Linked DNA regions of Homo sapiens: all the other regions are linked to region 1. Evidence: promoter capture Hi-C in 16 types of primary human blood cells and fetal thymus (Javierre and others, 2016). All regions are on one chromosome and are shown on one strand. Each heading gives the region's core, a stretch centred on a gene start or on the middle of the fragment in contact. The rest is flanking DNA. Distances are from core to core; before and after follow the strand shown. Region 1 holds the start of ARL4A (ARF like GTPase 4A). Region 2 has its middle 3.5 kb from the start of ETV1. Region 3 overlaps DGKB (diacylglycerol kinase beta). Region 4 overlaps ETV1 (ETS variant transcription factor 1).

Region 1 (2,780 bases), core at 33-2,532:
CTTTCAGAGTGTATTTCCTTATGTGTCAAACTGGAATATTTCTATCTGTGGCCAGTTCCCCGGGATGCTGCTAGAAACACGTGAGACAGCGCGTTCATTTGCTCTACAAAAAGCGAATGAAGGCGCAGTTACCAGGCCAGTCAACCCAGGCTGTTTAAGGTCAACTACTGGGGGACTTCCACGTCACCTCGATATATACGTAACGCGTGTGTGCCGTAACCCGTGAACTATGGAATCCCTAACCGCGAATCACGTGGCTGCTGCCCCGCGGACGCCCTAGACGACGTGAGGGAAGGCGGTGCCGGGCGGGGCCTGTGCCAGGCTGGCGGGCCGCCGCAGACAGAGCTACCCGGAGCAACCGTTCAGGGGTGAGGCCGGAAGTCCCATCCGACCTCGCGGGCAGCCAGCGCTAGGCCGATTCGAACTCGACCTTGTTTTGGCGTTGCTAGGAGACGCGGCTCCTGCGCGCCCCCTACAGGCCGGCGCCCGGGCGGCGCGCGGGCAGGGGGCGGGGACTGTCGCGTGGAGCTGCCGGGCGAGCACCGTTAGGGCAGCCTGGCGCGCGGCGCCCGCCAGGCGCCCAGTCCTCTGCCATCGCCCACGCCTCCCTGGTGCCAGGGAACAGGTATCAGCGCGCCTCCCCAGCGGCTGGGAGAGACGCTGAATGAAGAAGAGGGAAGGACGGTTAGTCAGGTGAGCCGCGGCGGGGTGGGCGGCCGGGGCGGCCACGCCCTGCCGAGGGAGAAGAGCCGGTCGTGTGCGGAGGGACAGGGTGAAGGGATCCCACTTCGGGGAGGATGGGCTTATCCCGGCGGGCGCGCCAGGTGGGATCTCTAGCGCCTCAGGGGCCCGCGCGGCAACAGCCGGCACCCTCGGGCCCGCGGACAAAGGGTTAACGCGTTGGCAGTGACTGCGGGCCCCGGATGTGAGAGCCTTGGCTTGACGCCCTGGCTGCGCTGCAGGTGCGCCGGGCCGAACGGAGCCGGCAGCCTGGCGGCGACCTGACCGCCCGAGGCTCCCCTTCACCTGCAGCGGCTGCTCGGCTCCCTCTGGGAACGCCGCCTTTTCTAACTTAAGGGCAACAGGTGGTGCCGGTGGACCGAGAGAGAGCTCAGCTCCGCCGCGCTGGGAGCGGCAGTTACCCTCACCAATTAGGGAGCGGGGGCGGGAGTTGCATGGCTTCCCTGATGCGGGTGACCAATGGGATTTGGGATCATGAGTGGACCGGGAGGAGTGGGCGTGGTCGGAGTCTGAGTCCAAGGTTTCTCGTGCGGCAACTGCCAGAGCTGCTTGGAGAGCTAAGCTGGAAGGGTGCTTATCCCTGCGTAGAAACGCCTGCCAATGCTTTCTCATTTGGACCCAGACTCCAGATCGGGAGGTGAGAACGTTGTTATTTTGCAAGGGGTAGGAGGTAATAGTGATCTTGGGTATGCTGTTAAGCATGTGGAATTAGATTCCGAAGATAGGACTATCTGCTATGAGTTTTCTGCCAGATAGGCACTTTGTGGTTACGGCCACTTAGACCAGATACTGGTGACTGGGTTCTTTCCAGAATGAGGTCTTTGAGGTTTGGGGACCCAGGAGAAAAACGTACATATTACTGCAATTTAAGTAAACCAGATAATTTCAATCACTGTTATTCCATCGTTTGTCTTGGACTGTGTGTGTTTTCATGTACGTTTCATATCTCGTCTGGTTTGTTTAGCGCAGCAAGTTATAGTAAGTTCTTCGTGTTGTTTATTTTAGCAAAGTAGAGCAAACCTGTTTTAATGTATTATTTCGGGAGAATAACTTATTCCTTCTTCCGTCTCCCAGCAGTCTTATAGCTGGATCAGCTACCAAGAGAAGTTGTAAACCAAGAAGAGAAAAGCATTTCAATTTGGGACATTTATTTGCACCTGGAAATGGGGAATGGGCTGTCAGACCAGACTTCTATCCTGTCCAACCTGCCTTCATTTCAGTCTTTCCACATTGTTATTCTGGGTTTGGACTGTGCTGGAAAGACAACTGTCTTATACAGGCTGCAGTTCAATGAATTTGTAAATACCGTACCTACCAAAGGATTTAACACTGAGAAAATTAAGGTAACCTTGGGAAATTCTAAAACAGTCACTTTTCACTTCTGGGATGTAGGTGGTCAGGAGAAATTAAGGCCACTGTGGAAGTCATATACCAGATGCACAGATGGCATTGTATTTGTTGTGGACTCTGTTGATGTCGAAAGGATGGAAGAAGCCAAAACTGAACTTCACAAAATAACTAGGATATCAGAAAATCAGGGAGTCCCTGTACTTATAGTTGCTAACAAACAAGATTTGAGGAACTCATTGTCACTTTCAGAAATTGAGAAATTGTTAGCAATGGGTGAACTGAGCTCATCAACTCCTTGGCATTTGCAGCCTACCTGTGCAATCATAGGAGATGGCCTAAAGGAAGGACTTGAGAAACTACATGATATGATCATTAAAAGAAGAAAAATGTTGCGGCAACAGAAAAAGAAAAGATGAATATCAATACCTATTATATCTGTGTGGAGTAGGTTTTCTCTGGTCTGATTTTGACAAATAGAAGAGTGTCTACAGCGTGGTTTGCCTGTCTGCCCTCCTGGATGCTATTAAAGCTTTGTTTTGTTGAACAATCAGATGCCCAACTCTGTTGCCTTGTGGAAGATGAGTAAATGCAGTGCTTCTTAAAGTGGTCTCTTCTCCCTACCCCACAAATCTTTTGGTACTACCATTTGGGGAAGCCAAGCAAGGATAGTAAATTGACCAGAACACAGT
Region 2 (2,769 bases), core at 51-2,550, 1.3 Mb after region 1:
TAAGACCGAAATTAAAGGAAGGCTCACGTGGGGATAATTCCGGCGTGCACTGCTTAGACAGCTTTTGCACTAGAGGAAAGAAAGAATTGAGAGTGGGGAGAAAGTCTTAAGGACTGGGAACTTTTGCTTGCTGCTTCAAGTCATTGCTTTTAAAGGTGCAAACTGTTCGACTGTAGATGGATTTCAGTTTTTTCACTTAACATTCTGTAATTTTCATTTCTACCTTTTTTTGTATCCCACAGTGTCTTGTTAGTTTTTTAAAGCTTTTATGTATTATTAGTATTATATATTTTTAGGAATATTGATGGTTTTCGCTGGCTGATAGCTTTAGTTTCCATTTCCAAAGACTTATCACTCCTTCCCAGGCCCCCATAAGCTCTGCGCCCCTTCTCCCTCCCTTTAGTGGACTGGCACTCTCAGGCGCTGCGCTGTTAAGCCTCAGATTTTACTACGTATTGCGGTGGCTTCATATTTTCCCTTTTGAGTTCTTTAAACGAACTCATATCTTTTAACTCTTTGATCTTCATAGTAACTGAAAATGATGTTCTCGTGTGAATAAGCAGCTAGTCTCGCTACAGCTCGGTTTTGTTGAAACAGCCTAAAATTTTGAGATAAATGTGTCCCTCTTGACTGTGAACGATTGAACCACCCTCTTTTCTTTCTCCCACTTTCTCTTCTGTCCTTTCTCTGCATTGATACTTACTGAAACACTATCTCTTCTGTCCTTTCTATGCCTTGATACTCAGACACTAGCTTCTAGTTTGGCAGTTGTTTATCTTCTCTGCTTGGCACTGGGAAAAACCAATAGACCCACTTGCTGAAGACAGTGGAAGGGCTGAAAATTTGTTTTTCAGAAAATGTAAGATCTTGGAAAATATCTGCAAAGGCAGCTGTTCTGTCTACAAGACAGGAACATAAAAAGCTGGACAAAGTTTCCACTACTTTTTGAGAATGTCTTTAAAACATCAGTTTAGTAAATGCCAGCCCTTTTGAACGGAAAATTTCATTTTGGCAGGATTTCAGGCATAGAATGGCAGAGCAGAGGCCAAGAGGCTTTGACATTTATTTGCTTGTATTTTGAAATCCCATTTGGATTTTGAAATAAGAGTTCTTGAGAGAAAGCTACCCCCCTCCAAAAAAAAGTCCATTTTTGAGTTTGGAAAGTTTTTAGGTTGCATGTAAAACTATTTAAATTTTTATATTTCCCTTGCTGTTATTTAATAAAGTAAAATAATATTCATTAGTGACTTCTCTACAGTTAACTTACTATGGCATTATGAAGAAATTGCACGTTGTTAAAGAAAGTGAATTTCTAAAAGCAGTTACAGAAAGGCAACAAGCTAAAATGGCGCTGCTTGTTTTAAATGGTTGCTATAATTAAAATCAAATGAAGTTTGCTCAAAATTGAGTAGAGTATTAAGTAAAACAGTAACTTTTAAAATTTGTTGTATTAAAACAGTATGTAAGGCAAATTGTTAAAGATCTAGTTTGCACAGTTACATCAAATAGATAAGAAAAAGATATAAAATTAAACAGCAAAATTGGCCAAGAAAATGAACAAGTGAAAATAATTCCAAAGGAGAACATAGAGTCCTCACAGGAGGGTGAAAGATAATCAGTGGCTTCAGGAACACTGTATGTGAGGAGTAGCAGAAATTTGAGAGGAGGGTGGAGCCTGGGAAGAAGGTAAGGGTATCAAGGAAACTGATACTATGTAGCTGTATACTCTCTCACTCTCAATACTGCCATTTTCAGCTGGTGACTATCTGTAAACTCCCTCAAGTAGAGGAATTGCAAACAACTTATAAATGTGGAAAAAAAAACTTTTAACTGCACCCCAAATCAGTACATTATACTGTACACTTAAAAAATAAAGAATTTTTTTATTTTTATTATTTATTTATTTATTTATTTATTTATTTATTTATTTATTTTGAGACAGAGTCTTGCTCTGTCACCCAGGCTGAAGTGCAGTGGCGCGATCTCGGCTCACTGCAACCTCTACCTCCTGGGTTCAAGTGATTCTCCTGCCTCAGCCTCCCAAGTAGCTGGGAGTACAGGTGCCCGCCACCATGCCCAGCTGATTTTTGTATTTTTAGTAGAGATGGGGTTTCACCATATTGGTCAGGCTGGTCTCAAATCCTGACCTTGTGATCCGCCCACCTTGGCCTCCCAAAGTGCTAGGATTACAGGCATGAGCCACCGCGCCCTGCCTTAAAGAATGTTTTAACTCATCAATTTGGAAGGAAGTTTCTAATATACTTAGAGTTGGATCCTAGGATAAGGGCACTCATGTATATTGCTGGTTGGAATGTGACTTTTTGAAACCTTTTGAAGGTAAGCTTACAATGTCTACTAGACTTTAAAATGAACATCTATTAGACCCTAAAATTATATCCAATAATCCTCATTTGGGAAATCTATACTACAAAAATAAAAGCAATGGTGCATGAAGACATTTATTGAAATATTAGGTACCAAGGAAAAAATCTGGCAGCAACTTCAGTATCCACCAATAAGGAAATGGATTTGACAAAGTATGATACTCTTATAGTTTGGAATTCAATTATCATTATATACCTGTTAAAAAGTATGCTATATGGTTGGTTCTCAAATTTGAGATTATATAAGACACTCCTTGTTAAAAAGTGACATCCCTGGGTGGATTCATAGAGTTTCTGATTCCGTAGGCTTGAGCAAATCACGTGGGAATTCTGTTGCAGGAGGTTGTGTTGCAGTTAGTATGTCAACATTTCTTTGAAAAATCGT
Region 3 (2,786 bases), core at 12-2,511, 1.8 Mb after region 1:
CCCATTGATCCACTTCTAATTTGAAAATACTTCCCTATTTTAAAAAATCACTTAATTCTATGGTATTTCCTGTATGTCTCTAGCAGACCTATGTTCTTTTATTGACTAGGATTTTGACTGCAAACACATTTTAAGGCAATTATTTAGTAGCCTATGTTTTTACAAACATTCATGTTCAATAGTTGCAGTAACTCTGTGAGATTGTCTTAAGAAAACCATTCCAATTTACAAAGGTAGCTTCCACGTTCAGGAATTATAATATGGCTTTTAAATCTAAATTTTGTGCTCTTGTGATTATGTGACACGATCTTTGCATTATATAGAAATCATATATGATTGCTATCAGATGCACGTTAACTTTTAAATAATAAAGCTTTCAATGAACTTTCAACTCCATTTTTCACTTTCTAAGAATCACCTAATATTTCTGACACATCTTTGTAAATCCCAGAGAGTTACTGGACCCCTGCATTATAGCATCAATATCCTGCATACACTTGAGTCACATGATAGTTTTGATAGTAAATTCTGATGGGAATAAAAACAAAAGAAATGGTATTACTCTAGCTAACATGACATGTATTATTCAATTTAATTTAATAGTATAACAATCCTGAGAACTAAGAATCACTATTCTACTCTCATAGGTGATGAAATGGATGCTACTAAATTCTAAATAATTTACCCTAGGCTTCAGAACTGGTAAGAGGCAGAAGTAGAATTCAGACACAGATAGAACCGAAGGTTTGTCTTTTTCATATGACATCAGAAGTGTCTCCTGGTTATCTATGGAACCCAATATCACGTTTGAACTTCCCAACCATCAATATACTTTTTAATTTTCTATAAACTCTGTTTAGAATTCTCTGTATTTCTTTATGACAACCAGGAAAACTTGCTTATACCATTTGAGCAGTGAAGTTAAAAATCACAGACATAACTTCAATATGAATTTTATTACTGGTTATCTGCTAGAGAGCTTGGAACATTCTGAATGGAATTAAAATGCATTTCATTGGTGTGGAATCATGAACATTTGTTAAAATTGTTTTGTAAAAAACTCCCTAGGTTTTCACAGCTGTAGAAATGCTCCCTCAAAGAAATAAGTGCAGAATGAATAAAAACAGATGTGGCATTTTTGCATATTATCAACAAAAATCTCTTTTTATTTTATCTTGTCAATGTCTTACCATAACATTATTTATGCCATTATTCTGTTCACAACAAGTGCAAAGAAATTACATGACATTTCCAGTACATATACTGGTCTTCAGTAGGGTTTTCTGGTTACTTATATTTCTCTAGAGAGTACCTTTGCACAGGAAGTAATTTTCTATGTTTTCTAACTAAAACCCAACCTTTCTGGCTGTGCACTCTGAGAAACAGCAAACATTCTCCACTCTATTAAAAGTAATTGAGTCGGAACATTTAAAGGTATTTTAAATGAATGTGCACTGAACATTCTTCAACTTGGTTCAGGAAATAGATATAAGAAAGTTTTTAATACCCTGAAATTTTTAAGAAGAGGAAATTACCTTTGGTTATTTAAAGCTAGAAAAGATTGGGTTTAAGAACTTTAAGACAACGGGCTAAAATCAACTCCAAGGCAATGAAAGCGTCTTCCTTTAAAAAGTCACTAGTGTTTTGTGTTTATAAATTTGTGCCTTCACTGTTGAATTTGTGCCTTCACTATTTAAAATGTATACACCGTATACAGGTTTAGCATTTCTAATCCAAAAATCCAAAATCCGAAATGTTACAAAATCTAAAATTTTTGAGGGCCAACGGGATGCCACATGTGGAAAATTCAACACGTAAGTACTTAACTCAAACTCTGTTCCATGCACAATATTATTAAGAATATTGCATGAAATTATTTTCAGGTTATGTGTATAAGGTATATATGAAACATAAGTGAGTTTTGTGTTTTGTGATAGACTTGGGTCATATCACCAAAATACCTCATTATGTATATGGAAATATCCCAAAATATAAAAAAGTCTGAAATCTGAAATAGTTAGGATCCCAAGCATTTCACATAAGAGCTGCTGAACCTGTAGTACTCTTTTAGGCACTCAGATGTAGAGTGAAGTTAATTCTGTATAATATAAGCTAAAAAACATAATCATTGGCAGTACCTAGTGGTAACTCAAGCTTTCAACATCATTAGAATTTGAGGATGTTAATATACCTGCACAAAACAATCCTATGTGACTTTTCAAAGATGAAATTGCACTCAGTGTGGTCAAATGAAGAAATTAAATCATGCTATGAATAAGTGATGTTTTATTAGGTAGATGTTCTAGCAAAACCTAATGCTTTACCTGAGAAGTTAATCACTTCTTACATTATTTTTCCAATTGTTTGTCTTCCCAAGAGTTGTGCTAACTTAATATTAATTTGATATATTAGCTGTATTCACTTAAAAGTTTACACAAAAATATTTTACCATTTGTAATTGTTTCAAGTTTATATAAAGAATTAAATATATTTTAACAAGCATCTACATAATTGACATGATTTTTTTCTAACCTGAAAACCTAATTATCACCTTCTTATAGAGGACAAGGAACAGCTTTGCAGGCAAATTAATGTATCCTATCAGTGGGACAGTTTGTCACTTGCTTAAATAATCATCATCTTTGTTATAAGCTTTACAGAATGAAGAAAAGAGATAGGACCCCTCTCATACTATTACACATTAAAATTAACTTCCCACAGGTTTTTCAACAGTTTCCTACACTTTCACTGTGCTGAATCATAAAGTAGAAATGACAGCATTAACT
Region 4 (2,970 bases), core at 212-2,711, 1.2 Mb after region 1:
TTAAAAATAAAATACAAACAACAGAAATAAAACAAAGATTCAGCAATTCTCTGTATCTTGCAGAAAAAAGGAAAAGCGCAAAAACGCCCTGCTTGACTGTCACTTGTGTTAATACACGTAGCCTTCGTTGTAGGGGTGGGGGTTGCAGCAGCCCCCTTCCGGCATGTAGGCCATGCTCTCATCAAAGTGAGAAAGAGGCACTGTGTCCTCCTCGTTGATGTGACGTTCCATGTCTGTCTTCAGCAGTGGACGCTGATTATCTGGAAAGGCCATGGAGAAAAGGGCTTCTGGATCACACACAAACTTGTAGACATATCTCTCTCCAGCCACCTGATGATAACATGGAAGAGAAAAACCCATCCTCACCATCGCCAGATGGGGAAGGACAGGAAGGAAAAAGCCAAAAACGTGGTTTAATATACAGGAAAGGATGGGTAACTCTGGCCCAAAAAAGCAAACAACTAATAGCAGATACACATAAAAAAAAAAAAGTCTTTACTTTGTGGAATAAACTACAGTTCAGTCAAGGGAGATGCAAAATGTTGACCTTGAATAATAATTAATTAATTCCAGATATAGCTAGGAAGCACAGGAATTTGCTTGTCTTAATATAGAGGTAAACTTACATCGTTGTTTTGAAAAAAAGTCAATTATTTAATGCAGGCATTTCATATTGAAAGCTTTTTTTCTGCATTTTAAAAGGTAGTATCTACAAATCTGTACTTTTAAGGTACACTGTCCCTCTTAATATTACATATCTGAAATGGTAGAAAAACTAAATTCAAAATTTAAAAGAAAAATGTGCTTTATTCCCAATAAGACTAGACTAGTAATTCACTGATTCACAGAATAAATGGATTCTTTACTTTTTTTCTTTTTTGGCAGTGTGTGTTGAAAGAAGAAAGAAAGGAAAGAAATAAAGAAAGAAAGAAAAGAGAGAGAGAAAGAAAGAAAGGAGAGAGAAAGAAAAAGAAAAAGAAAGAAAGGAAAGAAAGAAAGAAAGAAAGAAAGAAAGAAAGAAAGAAAGAAAGAAAGGATACACAGCCTCATTTAAATGAAAGATGGATCAAAAGGACAGTATCCTGGGTACATCACTTTTAAAAATGAAGGCAAGATGCATTAGACAGAGTTAAGGATGTGTGTAAAGTGTCAAATTGAAGTAAGAGGTGTAAAAAAGTGAAAGGAATTTAAAATACACAATGCACAGGGAGGAAATGAGAAAAAGAAATGTGACAACTGCCTGGAATAAAGAAGTAGCATAATTTATAGGGTATGACATACCCCAAACTTAAATTCTGAAGAGTAATGCTTCCCTAGAAAATTATAAACAACTGAGTGAGATGAATACGCCTCTTGTTAATAGACAATGCTGAGATGCTCTCAAAACCCGGGGTGGGGGGATGGGTGGATGAATACAGTTCTTTCTATTAACTTTGATAGTCACTTTGTATGGGTGTGTGTAAAGGTATGAGATTTTAGAAAGCTGAAGGTGACACAACACCTCCATGTTCCTGTATATCAACAAGGCATTTGCTAGTTGATTTTTGATGTGGGGCAACAGTGTGTTCCTGGGTTATAAAGTATTGTTATATCTTTGAGGGAAAAGTAACAATTGTCAATGAATGCTGCTGCTCTGAATTCAAATTTAGAACATTTTTTGTTTCTTTTGCCCTGAATTTAAGTAAGAGGAACCACTTTAGAGAATTCAAATAATCTGAATGTACCTAGGTTTGAAAGAATGAACATTTAGTAGTTTTTATGAATTTGGACCTGTTTCTTAGACTACCTCTCAGTGGCCTTTGCTGTGAAATGGAGACAGGAATGGCGCCTCAGAAAGCCCATTGCAAGGTTGGGATGGAAGTCTCCAGCACAGAGCACTGTGCCAGAAACAGAGGAGTCTGGCATACATTTATTTACTTTAGTCCTTCATACAAAGAAAATTAAGATCTTAAAGGTGAAATGATGAAATGACCATAAACATAAAAATAGCACTATCAGGAACAAAGCTGAGATAGTAAATCCTAGTTTTCCTTTATTTTTTTCTTTGTTCAAAGTATTTGGAGAAAAAATAAAATAAAATAAATGGCCTGCATACCTCTGAGTGTTTTATAATGTGCTTTGTTTTGTTTGGGGCTGTGGAGGAAGATACATTTGCTTTAAGTACTGGACTTCCTTTGACGGGTTGCTACTGGCTATACTTAAAAATTATGTAATAAATGAATTAAAATGTGTAACATGCAATCAAGCTTATGCAATCTCTCAAGGACTCTGCCTTTCCTCACTGCTTCCTTCTGTATTGCTTTTGAATAAACATTTTTAGGGCTACTACTTCATTTGCTGGACTATGTTAAATGCTACTGAGTTTAGAACAAGGGATGATAACCAACCAAGGGGAATGATGTCTTCCATTATGAGTAACAGAAGTACTAACGTGCAAAATGCTGTACATTAAGTATAGCCAAAATGCAACACTGAGACAGACAGAAAAAACAGGAATTTTTCCAGGGAGATAAATCAAAAGTAAACAAGGAGATAGCTTTAGAGCTGTGCTTTCAATGGCTGGATATTCAAATTATGTTTTATCTCTTAAAATTTCAGAAGTAATATGGGGATACTGAAGGATAAATTAGAAATTATCAATTAAGTTAAAACAAAGGGTCTATAATTATATCATCCAGAATATAATCACCATTAACATATTGGTATATATTGTTCTAGGCATTTCCTAATTTTGAAATAGAAGTACACATAGGCATTGTCTGTAAGGTAAACATACACTGTTCCATTGTTTCTTACTTCTTCCGTATTACTAAAATTAATTACCAGTTTTCAATTTTTTTAACATGTTCAGATGTAAGTTATTTTTATTTTTCTCTAATCTTCTAATTTTCTATATTATATACACCACATATGCCCACAAAGTTTTAAGTTAGTGAACAAATATAGCCATATAAATATTTTCTCCTACAT

What was found. Contacts are between HindIII fragments. The CHiCAGO score rates a contact against its expected background, and 5 or more counts as called.
Region 2: a contact is called between a fragment that was not itself captured here and the fragment with the promoter of ARL4A in region 1, in 1 of 17 cell types (fetal thymus). The highest score is 7.4, in fetal thymus.
Region 3: a fragment that was not itself captured here is called in contact with the fragment with the promoter of ARL4A in region 1 in 4 of 17 cell types (total CD4 T cells, M2 macrophages, naive CD8 T cells and 1 more); the score reaches 7.7 in total CD4 T cells.
Region 4: a fragment that was not itself captured here is called in contact with the fragment with the promoter of ARL4A in region 1 in 1 of 17 cell types (monocytes); the score reaches 5.4 in monocytes.

The regions. Positions count from the first base shown.
Region 1 is chr7:12,686,351-12,689,130 of GRCh38, forward strand. It overlaps ARL4A (ARF like GTPase 4A), which reads left to right and starts at 1,283. Exons shown (of 2, transcript NM_005738.5): 1 at 1,283-1,378; 2 at 1,816-2,780. The coding sequence starts at 1,905. The coding sequence ends at 2,507. RefSeq lists silencers at 318-597, 798-847 and an enhancer at 792-1,328. The HindIII fragment of the contact is 3,768 bases long and covers 1-2,618 here.
Region 2 is chr7:13,991,746-13,994,514 of GRCh38, forward strand. No RefSeq gene overlaps it. Among named protein-coding and RNA genes, the nearest start is that of ETV1, 3.5 kb to the left of the region's middle. The HindIII fragment of the contact is 2,079 bases long and covers 262-2,340 here.
Region 3 is chr7:14,454,266-14,457,051 of GRCh38, forward strand. The region is part of intron 21 of DGKB (diacylglycerol kinase beta); the gene reads right to left. Among named protein-coding and RNA genes, the nearest start is that of DGKB, 450 kb to the right of the region's middle. The HindIII fragment of the contact is 1,781 bases long and covers 372-2,152 here.
Region 4 is chr7:13,895,758-13,898,727 of GRCh38, forward strand. It overlaps ETV1 (ETS variant transcription factor 1), which reads right to left. Exons shown (of 14, transcript NM_004956.5): 14 at 1-330. The coding sequence ends at 109. Among named protein-coding and RNA genes, the nearest start is that of ETV1, 92 kb to the right of the region's middle. The HindIII fragment of the contact is 1,566 bases long and covers 679-2,244 here.